Linked DNA regions of Homo sapiens: regions 2 and 3 are each linked to region 1. Evidence: promoter capture Hi-C in human tissues and cell types (Jung and others, 2019). All regions are on one chromosome and are shown on one strand. The core of a region is centred on a gene start or on the middle of the fragment in contact, and the rest is flanking DNA. Distances in the headings are between cores, read along the strand shown. Region 1 holds the start of TTR (transthyretin). Region 2 overlaps DSG2-AS1 (DSG2 antisense RNA 1). Region 3 overlaps B4GALT6 (beta-1,4-galactosyltransferase 6).

The links. Contacts are between HindIII fragments. The study calls those that stand out against the background at their distance.
Region 2: a contact is called between a fragment that was not itself captured here and the fragment with the promoter of TTR in region 1, in 4 of the 25 tissues and cell types used here (aorta, heart left ventricle, hippocampus and 1 more).
Region 3: a contact is called between a fragment that was not itself captured here and the fragment with the promoter of TTR in region 1, in 2 of the 25 tissues and cell types used here (H1 embryonic stem cells and hippocampus).

What each region holds. Positions count from the first base shown.
Region 1 is chr18:31,589,526-31,593,126 of GRCh38, forward strand. It overlaps TTR (transthyretin), which reads left to right and starts at 2,352. Exons shown (of 4, transcript NM_000371.4): 1 at 2,352-2,446; 2 at 3,371-3,501. The coding sequence starts at 2,378. The HindIII fragment of the contact is 7,126 bases long and covers 291-3,601 here.
Region 2 is chr18:31,549,639-31,553,239 of GRCh38, forward strand. DSG2-AS1 (DSG2 antisense RNA 1) reads right to left here. Exons shown (of 6, transcript NR_045216.1): 3 at 400-721. Among named protein-coding and RNA genes, the nearest start is that of DSG2-AS1, 5.5 kb to the right of the region's middle. The HindIII fragment of the contact is 3,865 bases long and covers 1-3,510 here.
Region 3 is chr18:31,627,126-31,630,726 of GRCh38, forward strand. The region is part of intron 6 of B4GALT6 (beta-1,4-galactosyltransferase 6); the gene reads right to left. Among named protein-coding and RNA genes, the nearest start is that of TTR, 37 kb to the left of the region's middle. The HindIII fragment of the contact is 8,317 bases long and covers 1-3,601 here.

The sequences.
Region 1 (3,601 bases), core at 1,102-3,601:
GGGAGGCCTGGGGAGTCTTGATGTCTGAGAGTGACATTCTGATGATCACTGTCATGTGTAAATGTTGGCCTAAAGCTGCCAATATTTTTGATTTAAGAGAAGCAAGAAATGCAAATTTTTATGCAGCATGTCTCAATTTTTAATTTTGGCAACTATTACAAAATGTTTAAAGAGACTCTGTGCAGCCCAAATATAACATATCTATGGGCTGATGGCAGCCCAGCGTTGCCAGTTCACAGGGTCTACAAGAGATGATTCTTAGTTTCAACAGGGTGCAGTGCTGAAACGCGTGCACAGTAGATTTTGCTTCGGTTATGAAAGAACTTCCAAATATTTATGATTCATAGCCAGAGAAAAGGCTCTCTATCCAGGTTCTGAACAATAGGAAATCATCAAGAGGATATTGGATGACAATATATGAAAGATGTTATTTGAGAAAGGATTCTCTCCTGAGGCATAGATGTTGAACCAAATTCTATTAGTTATGCTTTTACAGCAAGATAGTGGTTTACAGCTTACAAAAGGCTTGTACATCCTCTCATATTAAAAGTTATTAGAACAGTCCTTTGAAGTAGAAAAGTAGGCATTTCTATTTTACAAACGAGTTGGCCGAGTATCTGAGATAGTAGATAACTCATAGAAGGTCATCCGGGAAACGGGGCAGCAGAACTGGGATCGAATGACTCTGGTCATCCAACTCCAAATGCAAAAGTCTTTCTGCTGCTGCTTCCTAGTTAAACTCTAAGGGTCTAAGACTCCATTCCTAGTTATGGTCTCAACTACATTTGCTCATTGCTGTGAGGGGTCAACCCACCTCCCGGAGTCCTCTCCTGCACATTCTCATGTTCCTGAAAGGCTTTTCTGTCCCTTCCACTACTCCCTGTAAGCTCCTGTGCTTCACAATTTCTTGTTGAATTTTTTCTAATCTGACTCTATCAGTTATGGGAATGTTCCCTCAATTCTTAGTGCTCCAAACCGGACTTGCTCTTGGCTTGTATTTGTCCAAAATATTTGTCTTCTCTATGTTTTCTACATGTTTGTCTTATAAGGACAAAAACCTGCCTTAGTTTATCCATGAACAAAGCCACGCATGCTAGTGGACACACACACACATGCGCGTGCGCGCGCACACACACACACACACACATACACACAGAGACTTTGTATGTGAGTAATGAATCATCAAATCATCATAATTTCTGGACTTGTATTAATAAGTCGGCCAGGAGGAAAAGAATCTGCTGTCAATCATGGCTTCTGGTTCTCACAGTCATCTCTACTTTCTTCCAGCAAGTTTGGTTCTGTCAAAAACCAGCTGTCAGCCTTGTTCCTGCATGCCCAATGCAGAAGAGTCAGTAAAGAAGATTTGGTTCTCTGTATTTCAGGGGCATCAATGCCAGGTTGAAATATGCCATTCTGGCCCAGCTCAGTGGCTCACACGTGTAATCCCAGCACTTTGGAAGGCCAAAGCGGGTGGATTGCTTGAGCTCAGGAGTTCGAGACCAGCCTGGGCAAGAGGCTGAGGTGGGAGGATGACCTGAGCCCGGGAGGTCAAGGCTGCAGCGAGCTGTGATCGTGCCACTGCACTCGAGCCAGGGCGTTGGAGTGAGACCCTGTCAAAAAAAAAAAAAAAAAGGAAGGAAAAAAGGAAGGAAGGAAGGGAGGGAGGGAAGATGCCATTCTTAGATTGAAGTGGACTTTATCTGGGCAGAACACACACACACATACACACATGCACACACACATTGTGGAGAAATTGCTGACTAAGCAAAGCTTCCAAATGACTTAGTTTGGCTAAAATGTAGGCTTTTAAAAATGTGAGCACTGCCAAGGGTTTTTCCTTGTTGACCCATGGATCCATCAAGTGCAAACATTTTCTAATGCACTATATTTAAGCCTGTGCAGCTAGATGTCATTCAACATGAAATACATTATTACAACTTGCATCTGTCTAAAATCTTGCATCTAAAATGAGAGACAAAAAATCTATAAAAATGGAAAACATGCATAGAAATATGTGAGGGAGGAAAAAATTACCCCCAAGAATGTTAGTGCACGCAGTCACACAGGGAGAAGACTATTTTTGTTTTGTTTTGATTGTTTTGTTTTGTTTTGGTTGTTTTGTTTTGGTGACCTAACTGGTCAAATGACCTATTAAGAATATTTCATAGAACGAATGTTCCGATGCTCTAATCTCTCTAGACAAGGTTCATATTTGTATGGGTTACTTATTCTCTCTTTGTTGACTAAGTCAATAATCAGAATCAGCAGGTTTGCAGTCAGATTGGCAGGGATAAGCAGCCTAGCTCAGGAGAAGTGAGTATAAAAGCCCCAGGCTGGGAGCAGCCATCACAGAAGTCCACTCATTCTTGGCAGGATGGCTTCTCATCGTCTGCTCCTCCTCTGCCTTGCTGGACTGGTATTTGTGTCTGAGGCTGGCCCTACGGTGAGTGTTTCTGTGACATCCCATTCCTACATTTAAGATTCACGCTAAATGAAGTAGAAGTGACTCCTTCCAGCTTTGCCAACCAGCTTTTATTACTAGGGCAAGGGTACCCAGCATCTATTTTTAATATAATTAATTCAAACTTCAAAAAGAATGAAGTTCCACTGAGCTTACTGAGCTGGGACTTGAACTCTGAGCATTCTACCTCATTGCTTTGGTGCATTAGGTTTGTAATATCTGGTACCTCTGTTTCCTCAGATAGATGATAGAAATAAAGATATGATATTAAGGAAGCTGTTAATACTGAATTTTCAGAAAAGTATCCCTCCATAAAATGTATTTGGGGGACAAACTGCAGGAGATTATATTCTGGCCCTATAGTTATTCAAAACGTATTTATTGATTAATCTTTAAAAGGCTTAGTGAACAATATTCTAGTCAGATATCTAATTCTTAAATCCTCTAGAAGAATTAACTAATACTATAAAATGGGTCTGGATGTAGTTCTGACATTATTTTATAACAACTGGTAAGAGGGAGTGACTATAGCAACAACTAAAATGATCTCAGGAAAACCTGTTTGGCCCTATGTATGGTACATTACATCTTTTCAGTAATTCCACTCAAATGGAGACTTTTAACAAAGCAACTGTTCTCAGGGGACCTATTTTCTCCCTTAAAATTCATTATACACATCCCTGGTTGATAGCAGTGTGTCTGGAGGCAGAAACCATTCTTGCTTTGGAAACAATTACGTCTGTGTTATACTGAGTAGGGAAGCTCATTAATTGTCGACACTTACGTTCCTGATAATGGGATCAGTGTGTAATTCTTGTTTCGCTCCAGATTTCTAATACCACAAAGAATAAATCCTTTCACTCTGATCAATTTTGTTAACTTCTCACGTGTCTTCTCTACACCCAGGGCACCGGTGAATCCAAGTGTCCTCTGATGGTCAAAGTTCTAGATGCTGTCCGAGGCAGTCCTGCCATCAATGTGGCCGTGCATGTGTTCAGAAAGGCTGCTGATGACACCTGGGAGCCATTTGCCTCTGGGTAAGTTGCCAAAGAACCCTCCCACAGGACTTGGTTTTATCTTCCCGTTTGCCCCTCACTTGGTAGAGAGAGGCTCACATCATCTGCTAAAGAATTTACA
Region 2 (3,601 bases), core at 328-2,827, 41 kb before region 1:
GCTGAAACTCAGCTGCTGTGATTGATTGACGCTCAGCTATGTATTACAAAAATATACTCCTAAATTAGGCTTTCAGTTCATTTATGTACCAAGCTAGGCTGCAGTTCGTCATGTGGGGACTCAAGGTATGGAGGCAGCCTCAGGCCCAGTTTAATTTAATAATATACCAACTTGGGCTAAAACATAGGAAAGGGGATTAGGGGCTTCTGGGCAGGGGAAACAAGTTATGGGAAGGTGACCAGGAAAAGTCTGGTAAGCTTGAGTAAGATTTGTCATGCAGATTTAAATTAATCTCTTTGTCACTTATAGTCATCCCGTGTTTCCGGTACGGAGGGAGACAGCCTTACAAATGGACATTTCCCTTATAAATGTAAATCCCTTTACAAAAGGTAAACTTACGTTCTGTCTTCAGAGTTTCTCCTGCGTCTGCTATTTCTCAAAATAATCAGCTCAAAATAATCCTTATACTAAAAACGTATTTTGGGGGCTGTAGCATATTCTAGTCGACACTGCCGGTAAACTGGAATGTCTCATGAATGAAGATTTCACGACAATGGCACATCAGAACATCCTAAAGCATGAAGACTGGTTTATTCCTGCGTGACTTCAGTTCCCACTCCCAGTGGCACATGGAGCTAATTCTGGTTGATCTCTGCAGACCATATTCCAATCACCACCACATCAAAATGTCTACAGTAGGACGTTGCTAACCAAATATCACCTAAAAATGAGACATTTCAGATCATTAAATCTGACTTTCTTAAAGGACCAAAATTTATTAGTTTCATTATGTTTTATTTTAATCCTCTATATCATTCCCAATTACTTTGTCTACTGTTTCCATTAATTACTAAGAGGTTGAAGTCTCCCAAGTGTGGCTTTGCTTATTTCCCCCTTTAATTCTTTCTATTTTTGTTTCCTGTGTTTTGAAACTTTTTGCCTGTGTTATTAGGTACAAGTACATTTAGGATTACTGTGTTCCTGAAGAACTGATCTTTTTATCATTATGAAATGCCTCTCTTCATCTCTGTTTATAACTGCTAATTACCTTTAGCCTAAAGCTGCCTCCTTACATTCTTTTCCTTTTTTTTTTTTTTTTTTTTTGAGACGGAGTTTCAAGTGAGTGAAATGGCGCAAACTCGGCTCACCACAACCTCCGCCTCCCAGGTTCAAATGATTCTCCTGCCTCACCCTCCCAAGTAGCTGGGGTTACAGGCATGCGCCACCACGCCCAGCTAATTTTGTATTTTTAATAGAGACGGGGTTTCTCCATATTGGTCAGGCAGGTCTCAAACTCCCGACCTCGGGTGATCCGCCTGCCTTGGCCTCCCAAAGTGCTGGGATTACAGGCGTGAATTACCACACCTGGCCCTTGTTACATATTTTAAGTTTGGCCTGAAGGTTTCTCCATACTTAGTGAACTATAACCTAACTGGATGTGTAAACAGACTGTAACCTACTCTTGTCTGAGGCAATCACGGCCGCAATACTTCAACCACTCACAGGCAGCCAACTGTTCAAACTGCATTCAAATAAGGCAAACCCTGAGCTGTAACCAGTCCTGCTATTCTGTACCTCACTTCCTTTTTCTATCCATAAATCCTCTCTGACCACGTGGCAGCACCAGCGTGGCTCTGAATCTACTCCGGTTTAGGTACTGCCCAATTTGCAAATTATTCTTTGCTCAATTAAAGTTTGTAAAATTTGTTTATATATTTATTTATTTTATTATTTTGGAGATGGAGTCTCACTCTGTCACCCAGGCTGGAGCGCAGTGGCAGAATCTCCGCTCACTGCAACCTCCGCCTCCCAGGGTCAAGTGATTCTCCTCAGCCTCCTGAGTAGCTGGGCTGGGATTACAGGTGTACGCCACCACACCAGGCTAATTTTTGCATTTTTTTTTTTTTTTTTTTTTTTAGTAGAGATGGGGTTTCCCCATGTTGCCCAGGCTGGTCTCGAACTCCTGGCCTCAAGTGATCCACCAGCCTCAGCCTCCTAAACTGCTGGGATTACAGGCGTGAGCCACCACACCCAGCCAACTTTGTAAAATTTAATTTGCCTGAAGTTTTTCTTCTAACACATTCTTTGTCTTGAAATCTACCTTGCCTAACATTAATACAGCCATACCAGCCTTCTTATGGTTAGTGCTTCCGTGGTATATCTTTTTGATCCTTTTGCTTGACACCTGTCTGTGCCTTTATAGTACATTTATTGTAAACAATATACAGGTAGGTCTTGGCTTTTCCCATTTTGACAATTTCTGACTTTTATCAGAAGGTTTTACAACAATTATTTATATGGATAAGTTTAAGCTTCCATCTTTGTATTTGTTTTATCTTTGTCCACCTGGGTTTTCTGTTGGTTTTTTGGTTTTCTCCACTCTTGTTTCCTGACTTCTTTTGTGTACTGCATGCTTTAGGATTCCACTGTAGCACCTCTGTTGACCTTTCACCTACACCCGCTTGTGTTTACTTTTTAATTGGTTGCTCTTACTGAGGAAATATAACTAACAACAAAATTTCCTCTCAACCTAAAAAACCTTTCCACAAAGTAAAGGAGAAAGAAAACAGTGTCATCATTGAATAAGCATTAAACCCTGAAGGTGAGGCACATCACAGGTAGCTCCTAAAGAAACTGCGGGCCGGGCACAGGGGCTCACGCCTGTAATCCCAGCACTTTGGGAAGCCGAGGCGGGCAGATCACAAGGTCAGGAGATCAAGACCATCCTGGCTAACATGGTGAAACCCCGTCTCTACTAAAAATACAAAAAATTAGCCGGGCATGGTGGCGGGCACCTGTAGTCCCAGCTACTCGGGAGAATTGCTTGAACCTGGGAGGCAGAGCTTGCAGTGAGCCGAGAGCACACCACTGCACTCCAGCCTGGACAACAGTGCGAGACTCTGTCTAAAAAAAAAAAAGAGAGAGAGAGAAAAGAAACCACAGGCTGGGCACAGTGGCTCATGCTTTTAATCCCAACAGTTTGGGAGGCCAAGGCGGGCGGATCACCTGAGGTCAGGAGTTCGAGACCAGTCTGACCAGAGAAACCCCATCTCTACTAAAAATAAAAAACTTAGCTGGGCAGATGGCAGGTGCCTGTAATCCCAACTACTCAGGAGGCCGAGGCAGGAGAATCGCTTGAACCGGGAGGTGGAGTTTGCGGTGAACTGAGATCGCGCCATTGCACTCCAGCCTGGCAATAAGAGTGAAACTCCATCTCACAAAAGAAGAAAAAAAAGAAATTGCAAAGACAAAAAGTTCTTGCTTTTTATGCAGCCATTTAGAACATACCTGTTCACAAGATAAACTATAGCTTGTCCTCAAGTCAGAGGATTTGACAGCACCGTTTGTCATACATAGCTCATCTTAAACTCACCTAGTAATTGAGGGGGCTATTGTGTTTGCTAATTGCCTTTATTCAAAGAAATAATAAAACTTCTTAGATCTCTCTGATAGGTAGCTAGTTATAATTTGGAGCGAGCACCCATGGAGATGGGAAGATAGGGAGGCTAGCTTCCTTGATGTTAACATTTCAAAAAGATAGCCCCAGGTCCTTCAGAAGGACATCCCTGGTTATAAAGCTGGCAAAGGAGATAGAGAAAGA
Region 3 (3,601 bases), core at 716-3,215, 37 kb after region 1:
AAAAGAAAGACACAGTATTCTAAAAATAAAATCATAATAATTTCCCATGTGAAATGAAGGTTTCAGCCTTTTATGTGCTTTGCAAAATATGCCCTTATATTCTATATAGACAATTATGTTAGAAAATGTAAAGTACACCAAGACATAAAACATTTTTATATTCTAGTGAAACAAGTACATGTACATGTGTTATGTTAAATGTAAAGCACTTATGGAAACCTAAATTTAATATTTAGTATACAAATAAGACTCAAAATAAAATCTGTAAGGCTCAAAACCCAGTGCCCCCAAATTGTATATTTTCACAGCAAAAGTAAACATGATTAAATATATTTATAATGGTCAATGCATGTCAGATGTTCCTAAACTAGTAACACTGAAAAAATTAACTGAATTATAAACGCATTATTTATTATATAGAGCAGGATAAATATCAATTACAAAAGACAATTCTAGCATTTAATTGTCTAGCTACCTACTTTTATAATGATCTTATCTGTTGGAATTATACTCTCAAAATATTCATGGATATTTACAAATATATTCATTTTCAATGCATTGATATTTACAGAAATAACTATTTTTGTTTGGATTTTATTTTCCTTACCCTTTCCTAACTCATACTCCAAGGAATGTGTCAAACGATGCAATGTTTTTAAACTTTTCTAAACTATATTTTTACTTAGCTAAACTGTGTGTTTAGGTATAGATTGGCTTTCTGACATTTAGGCAGCATCCCTAGACCTGCAATCCTGAATATATTCCCATGGACTGAAACACGCCCCTGGGGAGCAGATGCCAGAGCAGAGAAAACGTGACCATGCACAGCACCCAAAAATCAAGCTGAGGGAAACCTGGCTGCAACCACAGCAAAGCTGTCTCAGAGGAGGGAACTTTTTGTTAGACACTCGCCTCACATTCTGAGAAGGACGTGCTGTTTGCCAGCTGGGGTCTTGTGTGGCACACAGACCAGGGAAGACTGGTTCTTTCATGGAAGCCTAGGGTTGTAGGAGAAAGCAGTCTTGCCCTCATCCTAGGTCAAAGGTACTCCAAGATGGTAACAGCAACACTGATCCTAAAGACAACCATACTCTCCTGAGACCTCTCAAGGCTCACACTTGGGAGCTTAGTGTTCTGGTATTACAGTAAGACTAGCTGGGGGTTCCACAGGGCCAATAAGCATTCTTGGCACCGTGTACTTCCCACATCAGATGGATTATTCTTGCCCAGGCTAGTAGTTTAGGAAAAACCTGAGATCGTCAGATAGGGAAACATGAATAAATGTGTCTGTGTGCTTATTGACATGTATAAATCAGCAAGCCTATCAATTCCATTTATTGCTCTAAGTGGAAATAATCAATTGTGCTATATGAATAATGGAAAGTTATTAGGTAAAATGAAGGTATAACAGATAAACTAAAGAAGAGAAAACAAAACCCAACAAGTCAAACTCTTGCAGTGTTTATCTTACACTGTAAAAGTGGGAGAGACACTACACCTGAGAGTCTGAGTTCTCTGGTCAGCAGTAGTGTGGCCATCACTGTGGGGCAGGGACGCTTCACCAGGCTTCATCCCACAGCTGAAGTCTATGCACTGCCCAGACCAGGCCTTGATCTACTGCCATTCTCCTAGAGCTACATTCTAATTTCTCTACAAACGTCCAAGATGCCTAACCAATCCAGGGACTAGTCTAGATGGATATGAATACAGCTGACGCTTGAACAACACAGGTTTGAGCTGCACAAGTCCACTGATATACAATTTCTTTTTCAATAAAAGTTACATAGAATGTGCCTCTCCTGCCTCCTTTTCCATCTTCAATTCTTTCACCTTGCCACCCTTGAGACCCCAAGACCAATCCCTCCTCTTCCTTAGCCTACTCCACGTGAGGACGATGAGGATGAAGACCTTCAGGATGATCCACTTCCACTTAATGGACAGTAAATATATTTTCCCTCCCTTATGATTTTCTTAATAACATCTTTTCTCTAGCTTACTTTATGGTAAGAATATGGTATACAATACATATAACATACAAAATATGTGTTACTCAATTGTTTATATTATTGGTAAGGCTTTTGGCTAACAGTAGGCTATTAGTAGTTAAGCTTTTGGGGAGTCAAAAGTTATACTAGATTTTCAACTGCATTCCGGTGGCTGGGGGAGGTGGTCACCACTGTAACCCCTGCATTACTCAAGGGTCAACTGTATTTTATTAGAAATTGATATTTTCAAGTTAACAACAAATTATTTAGACAACAAATTCATTTAGAATTTAACAATAAATTAATTTAGAATTCTTAGTTTATATGCCCTTTATGATTTTTTTTTTTTTTTTTTTTTTTTTTTTTTTTTTTTGTGAAAATCGGTTACCCTGGATCTAATGTGATTCTAGCAAACTGACTGAAATCAAGTTTCCAGAAGTGGTAAGAACCAGATTGTTGCCGGGCACGGTGGCTCATGCCTGTAATCCCAGCACTTTGGGAGGCCGAGGCGGGTGGATCACAAGGTCAGGAGATCAAGACTATCTTGGCTAACACAGTGAAACCCCGTCTCTACTAAAAATACAAAAAAATTAGCCAGGCGTGGTGGCAGGCGCCTGTAGTCCCAGCTACTCGGGAAGCTGAGGCAGGAGAATGGCGTGAACCCGGGAGGCAGAGCTTGCAGTGAGCCGAGATCGCACCACTGCACTCCAGCATGGGCGACAAAGCGAGACTCTGTCTCAAAAAAAAAAAAAAAAGAAAAAGAGAACCAGATTGTGAACCTTGATGGCCTTCTTCAAGGTAACCCCATACTCAAAGTTCAGATACAGAGGTAATAAAGAAAAAGGTTTTCTAATGATAACAATGACCAGCAAAAAAAAAGGAAGGAGGAGGAGAAGGATGAGGTGGAGAAGGAGAAGCAGGAAGGAAGGAAGGAAGAGGAAGAAGGGGGGAGGGGGAAGAAGGGGAGCGGAAGCGGGGAGGGGGAAGGAGGGGAGCGGGAGTGGGGAGGAGGAGTGGGGAGGAGGAAGAGGAAGAAGAAGAAAGAAACAAGCATTCTTTTCCTGCTTGTGTCAGACTTTTTGCTTCTCTGTACTCTAGATTAGCACCAGGCAAAACTGTGACACAGGCAACATCTTCCTGCCCTAAGCAACAAACAGATTTTCTCTCTACTCCCATTAGGCCAATGAAAACTGTGATCCTTTTCCCATATTAGACTTGCATTCTTTCATGTCCTTTTAAGTTACTATCTCAGCTCTGATAACTGTTCATTTTAAATTATCTCCAATTAGAGAAGGAAAAGATTTGGGTTTTTTTTTTTTATTATTAAAGGGCAGGTCAAGAATGCACACCTTAGGAAGAAGATAAACAGCAGAAGAGAGGGCTTTGTGGCCCTCCAAACCATCACTGGGGGAGAGCAGGCAGGAGTCAAGATGAGTTATGCACCTACCACACAGCAGGCACAGAGCACATGTGATCTCACAGCAGCTCTATGGATGGAATCTATTATCCCAGTGAACAAGGAATACACCTTCAGAGATGCAAGTGACTAACCTATAAGTCCTGGAACTGTAAGTGTGAGAACCCAAGTTTAAATCTGTGTGTGCTTGACCACAGAA